Regions from separate parts of the Homo sapiens genome. Here region 1 is linked to region 2. Evidence: promoter capture Hi-C in 16 types of primary human blood cells and fetal thymus (Javierre and others, 2016). All regions are on one chromosome and are shown on one strand. Each heading gives the region's core, a stretch centred on a gene start or on the middle of the fragment in contact. The rest is flanking DNA. Distances are from core to core; before and after follow the strand shown.

Region 1 (7,089 bases), core at 2,745-5,244, 110 kb before region 2:
TCATGAGGTCAGGAGATTGAGACCATCCTGGCCAACATGGTGAAACCCTGTCTCTACTAAAATGCAAAAAATTAGCTGGACATGCTGGTGCGCACCTGTAGTCCCAGCTACTTGAGAGGCTGAGGTAGGGGAATCACTTGAACCCAGGAGGTGGAGGTTACAGTGAGCTGAGATCATGCCACTGCACTCCAGCCTGGCTACAGAGCAAGACTCCATCTCAAAAACAAACAAACAAACAAACAAACAGCAACAACAACAACAACAAAAAGCATGATGAGATTAGAACCAAGGAATCAAGAGATCAGAGGAACTCACACTTTGGAGTACTAAGCAGGTAATCAAAGCTCCTAGACTGACATAAGTGAGAAAAGGAGGGAGAGCAGAAAGTGGGATGGGGAGCAGAGGAGAGGCAGAAGAGAGAAAGGAAGTAAGAGGCGCAGAGGGAGGAAGCTGTGCCTAGAGGAAATAAAGTTTGGAACTCATCATGAATTGAAGAATGAAAAGCCATAGTCACAAGTCTGGGAGATGGACTTCAAGAAGAGGAAGCCTGGGGTTTTACACCTTCCAGCAGGTGATGACAAATCCCAAAGCTGTACAGTAGCAGAGAGTAAGATACATGTGACACTATGCCATCTGTTTTTGTAAAAGTAAGACACTGGCACCCTTGCTTGACGAATACCATTTTAAACTGCTGATTTAAGAACATTTGTGACCAGATTACCCCCACCCCAGCAGGTCGAATTATCTACAGGCAATTTAGAAAGGTTTTGAGCCAAGTGGGTCTATGAAAAACAAAATTCAGTTAACGCTTCTGTCAAGTGAAGAGACAGAACAGATTTTGTTATTATCCCACAGCATTTTAGTAGTTTCCTAAAGCTTACTCATTCTGACCAGTCTTAGTAAGCTACTATTGTCAAAGACTGTGCAATCAAACATAGGCTGACCATAAGCAAAGCCCCAATTTTCCTGAGCTTTGGCTGCCTCTGTGATCTGGAACACATCAGGCAGCATGGAAGTTATTATTACTTATTTGGGGGAATAGGAAAGACTGCGGATCAAAAACCACCTAACCATACAAATAAGTAACCAAAAGTGATCAAACTGACTAATTTAGCCGTTCAGAATCCCTTTTGCCAAAAAGTCATAACCTTGAGGTTGATGAAGTAAAACAGGATTCTGCTACTCAGATGCTTTGAGTTTAGGAAGTGCTGGTTTTGATGGTATTTCTAGTCAGTTTTTATTCTGATCTTTTCAGGCACTTCTGCCTGAGACTACTCTGCCCAGCATGAAAAAGCTTCACAGAAACATGTAGCACATCTCATCTCAAGTGGTACCTTCCAAGATGCCACAGTCTCCTGCCCTATTCAGTTGTCTACTTCTTCCTCTTCGTTCTGTTCTTCTTCCAGCCTTTCTTCATCTTCATCATTGTTCTCATCTCTGCTCTTGTCTTGCTCTTCCGAGTCTGTTTTTTTGTCTTTGTCCTTCTTCTTTTGCTCTGAGGCCCCCTTCTTGCCTTTCTGCTCCTGCCTATATGCATCCAGAGCTTCTTTTTTTTTTCTTTTTTTCTTTTATTTATTTATTTATTTATTTATTTATTTATTTATTTATTTTTATTGATCATTCTTGGGTGTTTCTCACAGAGGGGGATTTGGCAGGGTCATAGGACAATAGTGGAGGGAGGGTCAGCAGATAAACAAGTGAACAAAGGTCTCTGGTTTTCCTATGCAGAGGACCCTGCGGCCTTCCGCAGTGTTTGTGTCCCTGGGTACTTGAGATTAGGGAGTGGTGATGACTCTTAACGAGCATGCTGCCTTCAAGCATCTGTTTAACAAAGCACATCTTGCACCACCCTTAATCCATTTAACCCTGAGTGGACACAGCACATGTTTCAGAGAGCACAGGGTTGGGGGTAAGGTCACCGATCAACAGGATCACAAGGCAGAAGAATTTTTCTTAGTACAGAACAAAATGAAAAGTCTCCCGTGTCTACCTCTTTCTACACAGACATGGCAACCATCCGATTTCTCAATCCTTTCCCCGCCTTTACCTCCTTTCTATTCCACAAAACCGCCACTGTCATCATGGCCCGTTCTCAATGAGCTGTTGGGTACACCTCCCAGACGGGGTGGTGGCTGGGCAGAGGGGCTCCTCACTTCCCAGTAGGGGCGGCCGGGCAGAGGCGCCCCTCACCTCCCAGACCGGGCGGCTGGCCGGGTGGGGGGCTGACCCCCCCACCTCCCTCCCGGGCGGGGCGGCTGGCCGGGTGGGGGGCTGACCCCCCCCACCTCCCTCCCGGACGGGGCGGCTGGCCGGGCGGGGGGCTCACACCCCCACCTCCCTCCCGGAAGGGGCGGCTGGCCGGGCGGGGGGGCTGAACCCCCCACCTCCCTCCCGGACAGGGCGGCTGGCCGGGCGGGGGGCTGACCCCCCCACCTCCCTCCCGGACGGGGCGGCTGGCCGGGCGGGGGGGCTGAACCCCCCACCTCCCTCCCGGACGGGGCGGCTGGCCGGGCGGGGGGCTGACCCCCCCATCTCCCTCCTGGACGGGGCGGCTGGCCGGGCAGAGGGGCTGCTCACTTCCCAGTAGGGGCGGCTGGGCAGAGGCGCCCCTCACCTCCCGGACGGGGCGGCTGGCCGGGCAGGGGGCTGACTCCCCCACCTCCCTCCCGGACGGGGCTGCTGGCCGGGCGGGGGGCTCACACCCCCACCTCCCTCCCGGATGGGGCGGCTGGCCGGGCGGGGGGCTGACCCCCCCACCTCCTTCCCAGACGGGGCGGCTGGCCGGGCAGAGGGGCTCCTCACTTCCCAGTAGGGGCAGCCGGGCAGAGGCGCCCCTCACCTCCCGGATGGGGCGGCTGGCCGGGCGGGGGGCTGACCCTCCCCACCTCCCTCCCGGACGGGGCGGCTGGCCTGGCGGGGGCTGACCCCCACCTCCCTCCCGGATGGGGTGGCTGCCGGGCAGAGACGCTCCTCACTTCCCAGATGGGGTGGCTGCCGGGCGGAGGGGCTCCTCACTTCTCATATGGGGCCGTTGCCAGGCGGAGGGTCTCCTCACTTCTCAGACGGGGCGGCTGGGCAGAGACGCTCCTCACCTCCCAGACAGGGTTGCGGCTGGGTAGAGGCGCTCCTCACATCCCAGACGGGGCGGCGGGGCAGAGGCGCTCCCCACATCTCAGACGATGGGCAGCCAGGCAGAGACGCTCCTCACTTCCTAGATGGGATGGCGGCCGGGGAGAGGCGCTCCTCACTTCCTGGATGGGATGGCGGCCGGGCAGAGACGCTCCTCACTTTCCAGACTGGGTAGCCAGGCAGAGGGGCTCCTCACGTCCCAGACGATGGGCGTCCAGGCAGAGACGCTCCTCACTTCCCAGACGGGGTGGCGGCCGGGCAGAGGCTGCAATCTCGGCACTTTGGGAGGCCAAGGCAGGCGGCTGGGAGGTGGAGGTTGTAGCGAGCCGAGATCATGCCACTGCACTCCAGCCTGGGCACCATTGAGCACTGAGTGAACCAGACTCCGTCTGCAATCCCAGCACCTCGGGAGGCCGAGGCTGGCGGATCACTCGCGGTTAGGAGCTGGAGACCAGCCCGGCCAACACAGCGAAACCCCGTCTCCACCAAAAAAATACGAAAACCAGTCAGGCGTGGTGGCGCGCGCCTGCAATCGCAGGCACTCGGCAGGCTGAGGCAGGAGAATCAGGCAGGGAGGCTGCAGTGCGCCGAGATGGCAGCAGTACAGTCCAGCTTTGGCTCGGCATCAGTGGGAGACGGTGGAAAGAGAGGGAGAGGGAGACCGTGGGGAGAGGGAGAGGGAGAGGAGGGAGAGGGAGAGAGAGAGGGGGGAGAGGGAGAGGGAGAGGGGGGAGAGGGAGAGGGAGAGGGGGGAGAGGGAGAGGGAGAGGGAGAGCCAGAGCTGCTTTTTTAAAAATTTTTTTTTATTTTTTATTTTTTCTGAGACGGAGTCTCACTCTGTCACCAGGCTGGAGTGCAGTGGCGCAATCTCGGCTCACTGCAACCTCCGCCTCCTAGATTCAAGTGATTCCCCTGCCTCAGCCTCCCGAGTAGCTGGGACTACAGGTGCGCACCACCACACCTGGCTAATTTTTGTATTTTTAGTAGAGACGGGGTTTCACCATGTTGGCCAGGCTGGTCTCAAACTCCCGGCCCCAAGCAATCCACGCGCCTCGGCCTCCCAAAGTGCTGGGATTACAGGCGTGAGCTAGTGTGCCCGGCCTCAAGAAAATATTTTAATGTAAAATTTCCATTGAAATATTCCCACATATAGGAAGGCAGTGGTCTGCTCTTTTCTGTATGAATGTTATATACCATTATTTTTAATAGTTGCATAGTACTGTACTATGTAGATTTCCAATAGTTAATGGCCTTTTTTGTTTGCTAATTTTTGCAATTACACATACACAATTATGCACATTCACAAACAATTGCAATGTGTGTAGTGAACATCTTTGAACATATATCTTTGAACATTTGTGCGAGTATTTCTAGATAGAAGTAGGATTGTTGGGTCAGTGGTTGTGTAATGCAAAAATGTTAAAAGATACCGCCAAATAGCCCTGCTGAAAGATTTTTACCAGTTTACTCCTCTACCAATGGTATTCGAGAAGCTACAACCCTTTGAGGCAAGATCTCCTTAAGAAGTTGGAGACTCTGCTATGCATAGTTGAGAATTTGACTCTGCACTGTTTTGTATTTATCTTTAATGACTTCATAGGTGCTAGTCTTTTTGCCCCTAGAATATTTTAAGTTCCTTGGAGGCTGGGATCATGTCATATACTTCCTTGGTATTTCCCATATTGCCTAGTACAGGCTGAGCAAACTATGGCTGTTGCTTAATACATACTTCATGATTGATTGATAAACTGGTTCTATTTTTGGGCTGCACAGTGATTGAGGTGAGCTCTTGGAATGAGAGAGCTGGGCAGAGTCAGAGACTAGGGCTGTGCCGGGTCAGTATCAGATGCTGTCACTTGCACATCAAGTTTAGACCGTAATCTGAGAATCTAAATGTATAAAGCACCTACTACAATCCCTGGCTCAGAGGAGGTCCCCAATAAATGATTTCTATTGCTGTTATGATTCTCTTTTAATGAGAGGATTGTCTTAGGGCTACTGTTGAGGGTTCAAGCATAGGACCTAAAGCCATCCCAGGCAGAGTCAGAAATCCACAGTCCAGAGATGAAGTCAAATTGGGAACCAGTGGGAGCAGCCAGGCATCTGAGGCAGAAACAGAGACCTGCGTTTGGGCAGTTCACTTGCATTGTGATGAACACTTTCCTGGCCATCCCAGGCTGTTTTTTGGGGGGCTTTCTGCATGTTTGGCTTTCATGCAAAAGTATCTTTTTTGTTTGTTTTTGAGACGGAGTCTTGCTCTGTCGCCCAGGCTGGAGTGCAGTGGCGCAATCTCAGCCCACTGCAACCTTTGTCTCCCGGGTGGAAGCGATTGTTGTGCCTCAGCCTCCCAAGTAGCTGGGATTATAGGCACCTGCCACCAAGCCCAGCCAATTTTTGTGTTTTTATTAGAGTCGGGGTTTCGCCGTGTTGGTCAGGCTGGTCTTGAACTGCTGACCTCAGGTGATCCACCCGCCTCAGCCCCCCAAAGTTCTGGGATTACAAGCGTGAGCCACCGCGCCTGGCCATGCGAGGACATCTTTAAGGTGCTGCTTAGTTCCCAAGAGAAGCCAACAATCTCAGCACAGGGCTGTGAACATAGGAGGTGCTCAGTGAAAGCAATCCCATTTACCTTTTGCCTGTTGAAACAGATAATGTGGCAGGAATGTCAATGATTTACTTGAGAAGAGGAGGCTAAGGATCAGCCATTCTACTAGAACAAGATTACTATCCAGGCTTTCCCCAGTCCCAGGTGGGGTAGGGGGCTGGGAAACCCAGTCAGATAAGGATTCAATTCAGTGATGAATTTAGAGGTTATGAAAACGTGGTGGTACATGGATGACAAGGACTCTATACAGTGAAGAATGGGTCTCATTTTTTCTACCTCTCTACCCCAGTCAGCAGGATGGCTAAGGGAGGGAGATGGGAGGGGGCAGTAATGGAGATGTCATTATAACATACAGCATTGACTGTGTCTCTCTTCCATGCCAGACAGTTAGCACACAATTCCCTTTATAACTCCATGATATAGGTATTAGCTTTATTTTACAGATGAAGAAATAGTCTCAGAAAGGATAAATTACTTGCCACAGGTTATACAAGCTATTACGTAGCAGAGCCAGGATTTGAACCGAGGCCTGTCTGGCCATAAGGCTTATGTGCTTTCTGAGCTACCTACCATCCTGGATCTTCTATGTCAGTGATAGCAGCCCAGGCCTCAGAGAAACAGATGTTGCTTAAGAATACTAGCTCATCATGCGTGGGTAGGGCATTCCGTGGTTCATTCTTTTGTTCATCAATTCGTTCTACACACACATGCATTTATAGCCAGAAAGCAGAAAGAGATGTGCAAGTCAGAGAGGTGGGGTGGAAAGGGCTGTGTGTGTGGGGAGGAGGGCAAAGTGACATGACAAGTTTGAGGCTACAGAAAATAGAGAATAAAGGAGCTATCATGAGCTCAAAAGCAGGATGGGGGCTGATGCTTTATGTCTGCTCCTGGATGTAGTACTGAATGGGTCTCCGGGTGGTTACAGAAGAGTCTTTGAAGCAACACTAACAGGAAAGCTTCAACCCAGTGGTGGCACTCAGGATCAAACAGCACATTACACCTACACCTACACACGCCTACACACACACACACACACACACAAACACACACACATGAAGAATAAATGTGGAGACAGGTATTTTTAAACAAATACTCCAGAACATACATGATAACACAAGGAGCTGTCTTATAAACTGGAAGGCTATACCTTGATTTTTGTGGTGTTTCTAGTGCTCATCACATGACTATAACCCCTTTTCTTCTCTCTCTTTCTTTCTTTCTTTCTTTCTCTCCCTCTCTCTCTCTCTCTCTCTCTCTTAGATGGAATCTCGCTCTGTCGTCCAGGCTGGAGTGCAGTGGAGCGATCTGGGCTCATTGCAACCTCCGCCTCCCAGATTCAAGTGATTCTCATGCTC
Region 2 (6,754 bases), core at 1,925-4,424:
CCTGCCCTCCAAGGTCCACTGGCTTTGTGTGGCCCCAGGCACAAGCTAGAAGCCGGGAGAAAAATCCAGGGTCATTTGGGGACCAGCTAGTTCCTAGAGAGGGAAGGAGTATCCTCTCAGCCCGCCCCACGGGGCCTCCATCCTTTGAAACGCACGAAGCTGGCCAGCTCTACTTGAGGATAAAAATAATCACATTTCATAGGAAATCAGGCTGAACTGGATAGCACCCTGGGTCACAATCAAAGAAATCTGTTTCATAGACAAGTGATTGCCACTTTTGGATGGGTTTTAGTGCTCATTAAATCAATTTTTCTTCTAATCTAATTGGGTCTTTTCAGGGTTTAGTGAAGTAGAAAAGTTGTGTGTAAATTAAATTTTTGTTATCAAATTTTCTTTGAAATGCTCTAGAAGATCACGCTAAATAATCACCCCACCTTCATTTTAGCCTTTTATAAATCTAATTGTATGATACATTGGGTTGACTTCAATTCAAGGCCTGCTTGCACTGTTTCTTACAGTCCAAATCTTTGCCTATCATTCCAGGCTCATTTTCAATATATTAGACAGAAATCCTAGTCTGCCATGGTGGGGAAAGATGGATTAATTAGTATTTAAAGACACCCTATTATGTGCCAGATACTGAACGCAGCAATTCATCTACAGTATCTCATTTGATATTTGTGACATCACTATGAGGTGGAAATTATTGTTCACTTTCTGCAGAGGAGGAAGTCAAGGCCCAGATAGATTTGGTAACTTGTCTAACTTGTGCCACCAGGAGTCAGTGGTAGAACAGGGATTTGAACCCAGGCCATCTTAATACAAAAGAGGTGAGCGCACTTTCAGTCCTCCCACTCTGCCAAGTATGAGAGGTGGGCCTGAAAAAGGTGATGCCACAGAAGGGACAGAATATATGGAGATCTAGTTTCTAGTTTGGGCTCTGCCCCCAATTTAGAGTGACTCGAGAGTGACCCCCCCCCAATATTCATTGAGCAACCATCTCCTAAGCGCCTACTGTGTGCCAGGCACTGGACTAAGTTCTCCAGGCTCTGGACCTCTGGAAAGGAGGGGCTTGAATTAGACAAAGCGGTCTCTGATAGTCCTTGCCTCTAACCCCCCTGTCTTTTAGGGAGGGATTTCCCTAGATGGTAATGGGGCCCTGAGTGTGGGGAGACATTACACTCCCCCGCCCCCCCTCCTTTTTTTTTTTTTTGAGACAGAGTCTCTCTGTCACCCAGGCTGGAGTGCAGTGGGGCGATCTCAGCTCACTGCAACCTCCGCCTCCCGGGTTCAAGCGATTCTCCTGCCTCAGCCTCCCAAGTAGCTGGGACTACAGGCATGCACCCACCACACCCAGCTAATTTTTGTATTTTTAGTAGAGATGGGGGTTTCACTATATTGGCCAGGCTGGTCTCGAACTCCTGACCTCAGGTGATCCACCCGCCCCGGCCTCCCAAAGTGTTGGGATCACAGGCGTGAGCCACTGCGCCCAACGCCCCCCGCGCCCGCATTTTTTTTTTTTTTGAGATGGAGTCTCCTTCTTTTGCCCAGGCTGGAGTGCAGTGGCACAATCTTGGCTCACTGCAATCTCTGCCTCCTGAGTTCAAGCGATTCTCCTGCCTCAGCCCCCCCTGAGGAACTGGGATTACAAGCGTGCGCCACCATGCCTGGCTAATTTTTGTAATTTTAATAGAGACAGTGTTTCACCATGTTGGCCAGGCTGGTCTCGAACTCCTGACCTCAAGTGATCCGCCTGCCATGGCCTCCCAAAGAGCTGGGATTACAGGCATGAGCCACCACGCCCAGCCACACTTTCGAGTGGGCTGAGCTACAGATGCAAGGAGGGTGGCTGGGGTTCAACACCATGAACGTCCTGTGTGATTTTATCTTGGTCTCATAAACTCAAGGATCAGATGCGACCCATACTGTTCATTTAAGAAAACAAACACCCATTTCTGTAGAAACAGATCCCTGGCAAAATGTTGGCACTGATATGCTAACATAAGAATGAGGACACAGCCAACTTATGTCTCTCTGGACACCAGAATATGCTGTTCTCTGAGGCCAGGGCTGTGGCTCCCAAGAGCAGGCTCTGCAGCTGAATGACTCTGTGGTCCCTGGCACAAGGCCTGGCACTGGGTAGGTGCTCAGGAACTGGACATTGAGTGACTGATCAGGCCCTGCTGACAGACAACAAAGAAAGGAAGGCTAGGGTGGGAGCGCTGGGCTGGGCACCTAGTTGAGGACAGAGAGGGTGCCGCAGGAATGACAAAGAGGAAAGACTCTCTTCCTGACCAAAGTTTAGTTAGGCTCCCCCAAAGCCTCTTCTCCACTTGGCCTTGACCTTGGCCTTCTGTGTCTGTCCTGCCCTTGCCAGGCTTGCATCACCCAGTCTTAGCAAGAATCTTGCTAAGTCAGTTTAGACACCCTTGATATCTGATCACTCTGGCCTGCCGTCAGCAAGAATGCTGTTCAGTCGGTTTAGCAAGAATCCCCCTACCCTTGCTATCTCCTCTTAATACTTTTCCATCCACTGACCCCCTCACTCTGCTCCTTGGCTACAGATCCCTGGAAGTCTTTTCTGTAATCAGAGTTGAGCCCCATTTCTCTCCTCTATTGCAATGCGGTAGTCTTAAATTAAGTTTTCCTTACCGTTTTAACGAGTGTCAGAATATTTTTTTTCTATAACGGGGGGAATGGAAAGGTGCCAAACCAGACTCGATCCAAGTTATGAGGGCCCCCAACACTGGCCCTGAGGTGTCTCTTCCTCAAGTCAGAGAGAGGAAGCAACAGAAAAAGAGACTCGGGCCCCAACCCTCACTCCAACCCTTTCTGAGCTCAGAGGGGAGAGGTCAGAGCTGCCTTCCAGTGGAAGCTAGGATGCACATACCACAGAGGAGGACCAGCCAGGGGCAGCAGCCCCAGTGAGCCCGGGCCATAGGGTCTCCAGATGCCGGCGCTGGGTGGATGGAGGGACAAGGGAGAGAGGGAGGGCTCTTTCCCCGGCCTCTTCCTTCAGGCCTTTCCTGGGCTCGAGCAGACAGAGGGTGGGGGCTGGCGTCAAGAAGGAGGCGTCTGGCTGCTGGGTGGAGAGTGCTTCTCTGGTCTTTTGTTTTGGAGGGCTCTGGGAGCCAGGGTGGGCAGAGGAGCTTTGGGCTGCCCGAGGCGGACTGTGCAAGTTCCTAGTCGTGTAGGATAGGGTGTGAGGCTATCCTGGGCAGAGTCCAAAGATCTCAGAGACAGAGGCACAACAGCTGGTCTCAATCAGCCTGCTTTTCCCAGCCCCCTCTCAGCGGCAGAGCCCCAGCCATTCCTTAATTCGGTCCCCTTCCCTCCAGCAAGCTGATTCCCATTAGCTCCCACACTCTGGGCTCTGGCTCCAGCACTGCTTTTGCTGTGGGGATGGAGATTTGCCTCCTGCTGCTGCTCCTTTTCCTCCCCACCTCTTCTTCCTCCTCGTTTTCCTTCTCCTCCTCCTTTTTCCTCCTTCCCCTCCTTTTCTGGGCTCCTCCACTTCCTCTTCTTCTTCCTCCTTTTCCCTCCTCATCCTCCTCCTTTTTTTTTTTTTCCTCCTTGTCCATTTCCTCCTCCTCCTCCTTTTTGCTCTTCCTCCCCCTCCTTTTTTCCTCCCTCTCTTCCTCCAAGCTGACTGGAAAAGCCAGTGTCCTCTCTTCTTGTAGTGCTTGGCAAGTCCCACTGTACCCCTTGGGAAAGTTGGTTGTGACTGGAGAGTTACTTTCTTGAGCTGGGATGAGTCCCCCCAGGAGTGCCCACTCTGAAGAAGTGATGCCAGCTCTTCCCTTGGGATCTGGGGAGTCCCATTCCCCTGCATTTTCTGAACCTGCACTCTGGGGAACCGAGGCTGTTAGAGCCACTCACACCTGGGAGGAAATGAAAGCCCAAAGATGCCCCTATCTGGAGGGTTTGGGGGATGCCACTGAATAGGGAAGAAGACACAGAAAGGGGAGTTTGGGCGCTCTGAGAAGACTAATTTGGTGAACTGGAAATGCTGTTTCTGCTGTAGCTTCTAGAACAGGGATTTGGTTACCCTGAAGTGTGAGTCACTCGTAAACAACACAACTCCCAATGAGGGAAATGGAGAAGCTGAGGCCTGCCTTGTCTTCACGCCCAGCTGAATCAGAGGGCAGCTTCAAGGCAGCTCCTAGTAAATGCTCTACAGAACCCTTGCTCTTTGGGTTCGAGGAAGGTGATTTCCCAGAGAGGAATGCTTTAGAGAGACAAACAGACCCAATGGGGATGGATGCTCACCTAGCCTGGAGGGCCCCAGAGGCAAACTGCCCATTCCTTTTGTTTCTATTTTTATTTTTGAAACAGGGTCTTATTCTGTTGCCCAGGGTGGAGTGCAGTGGCATGTTCTCGGTTCACTGCAACCTCAGCCTCCCGGGCTCAAGTGATTCTCCAGCCTCAGCCTTCTGAGTAGCTGAGACCACAGGTGCGTGTCACCATGCCTGGCCACCATTCCTTTTGTTTCTATTTTTAATGGATTTACAGTCTGCTTATGTCCACATCAAGTGTAAAGCAACTTTCAACCATCCATTCAAGAATGACAAAATAGGCCATTTTGAAGAGGGAAAACGGACCTTCATGGGAGTCTCTGAAGGGGCAGAGTCAAAATGAGTGAGGTGGCCCAGTGAACTTCATTCTCAGGAATAAAAGCAGAGGGCAGGAGCCCACAGCCTCAGAGGACAGACCAGGGACAAGGAGAACATGAGAATGCTGTCATTCAATAACTGCTGAAGCTCCCGCAGCCTTTTCCCCAGGCTCCTCTCTCCCACCCCTTCCAGGACTGGTAATGAAATTATTCCCAGAGACCAGAGCACTGGAAAATGCCCCCTCAAAGACTCCTGCCTCCTCTGTTTGCTGCAGTAGCCATCCTGAAGGGCAAGCAAGCAGGTAGAGCTGATGGGATTTTGCAGGGGAAGACCCCTGAAGATAGCCTTTGAGGACAAACATGGTCCTGTCTTTCTGTCAGTGAACTGAGCCTTGAAACACTGACTTGGGAGCCAATCAGCCTGAGTTTCAATCCCAGCTCTGGCACCCACTAGCTGTGTGATCTTGGGCAAGTGACTTTATCTCCCTGAGTCCCCAGTGTCCTCACCTGTGAGTTGGCATAATAATAGTACTAGCTTCTTAGGGTTGTTATGAGGATTCAATGGGCTAATGTTGGTGATGCTCTCAGAACATGCCTCGCAGAGACAAGAGTAAATGTTCTACAAATGTTTGTTAATTCACATACTAGAACTAAATAAAGCCAGTCTCATCTGTACTTTGTTCTTTCTCTCCCTGGCATCCAGCACTGCTGAAATAGCAGTTGTTAGAGCAAAGATCAGCTGAGCTGAAGGGCCAACCCCCGAAGCAAACAAACTAAACGGGGATTCCACCCCCATCTTCCGGACTCTGCCCAGGGATGGTCCCCACATAATACTCAGCCCTCTGGTTTCATACCTCTGGGTCCCAGCCTTAGCCCTGGTGGCAAAGATAACTTCACTTGCCTTCATCAGCTCCTTCCTTATCTCCCTATCTCGAAACCACTGTCTTTACTCTTATCAGTTGAGAGACTTCAACCCAAGTTGGCAACAGGCTTGAAGTGGAAAGAAATGATTCAACGTGGGGAGGGTTGAATGGCCGAGTCTTTGCATCAAAGTTGTTTGGAAGATGCATGCATCACTGGAGTCTCGCTCTGGCCTACTCAGGCAGTGGACTTCTGCTTGTTTTACTTTTTGGTCCAAAGCTAGCCTAAAGGCCAAATTCTGAAATCAGAGGTGATCTTCTCTAGAGTACCTCCTGTCTGTGCCTCTTATTTTGCACCCTCATGCCACCCCAGGCTTCCAACCTGAGCCTGCCCTCTCTGGGCACCAATGCCTCCTTGACTTCCATCAGAATACACCTTCCTGACTTACATGTTCTCCCACCAGGTGACAACCACTAGGTGTCCTGAATCGCAGCTGAGGTCACAATAACAACTAATGTCATGAGTGTGAATGAGAAAATGCATATAAAGTGACGAGCAAGCAAGGAACTCTAGCACCAGGGATACAAACAGCTTTGCTGTGGGAGCCCCGGGGAAGGGTAGAACCTGGAGGAAGGCCAGGAATCAGAGAGGTGGAGTGAATCTTGGCAGTAGAGGTGCAGAGATGGCATTGCAGGAGGTGGTCACAGGGAAGGACAGCAGTCTAGGGGCAGACTGGCGGCAATAATGTGAAAAGCAGCCTGAGGAAGCACAGGTGGACAGCGCCATGGACTGGAATAGCCGGTGGCAATAGGAAAGTCAGAGACCCAAGGGGGCTATGAGCACTGCAGAGCATCCCCTGGGGATGTCCCAAGTTACTGAGGATGAAATCATGAAATGATACCTGAGGTTCTGCAGTTCTGCAGGTGGGAAGGAGGCTTTTGAGCTAGCACATGCCCAATCTAACTCTTCATGTGACCTCACAGGCTGAGGGACTGGGGACTCTTGGCCTTGTGGGCACAGCATGTGATTGCTGCTTCCGAATTCCCGTTATACCCTCCCATCAGGTTCCAGCATCTCATGCTGGGAGATAGGCAGGGCTCTCAGAAGCAGAAGAGAAGACAGGCTTGGAGAAAAAAAGTGGCTTTGCCCAGGTCCAAGCTGACCTGTGGCAGAGCTGGGACTCAAACCTGGGTCTGGGGAACTTAAAAGCCCATGCTCTGTCCCTTGGACCTCACAGTCACCCCAATCTGAAGATCCTCCATGGCTCCCACTGCCCTCAGG

The links. Contacts are between HindIII fragments. The CHiCAGO score rates a contact against its expected background, and 5 or more counts as called.
Region 1: a fragment that was not itself captured here is called in contact with the fragment with the promoter of XPNPEP2 in region 2 in 6 of 17 cell types (activated CD4 T cells, neutrophils, total B cells and 3 more); the score reaches 9.3 in activated CD4 T cells.

The regions. Positions count from the first base shown.
Region 1 is chrX:129,846,491-129,853,579 of GRCh38, reverse strand. No RefSeq gene overlaps it. Among named protein-coding and RNA genes, the nearest start is that of ZDHHC9, 6.1 kb to the right of the region's middle. RefSeq lists enhancers at 2,444-3,257, 3,258-4,073. The HindIII fragment of the contact is 5,396 bases long and covers 1,297-6,692 here.
Region 2 is chrX:129,735,399-129,742,152 of GRCh38, reverse strand. XPNPEP2 (X-prolyl aminopeptidase 2) reads right to left here and starts at 3,174. Exons shown (of 21, transcript NM_003399.6): 1 at 2,891-3,174; 2 at 1-45. The coding sequence starts at 2,939. RefSeq lists an enhancer at 3,895-3,944. The HindIII fragment of the contact is 11,300 bases long and covers 1-6,754 here.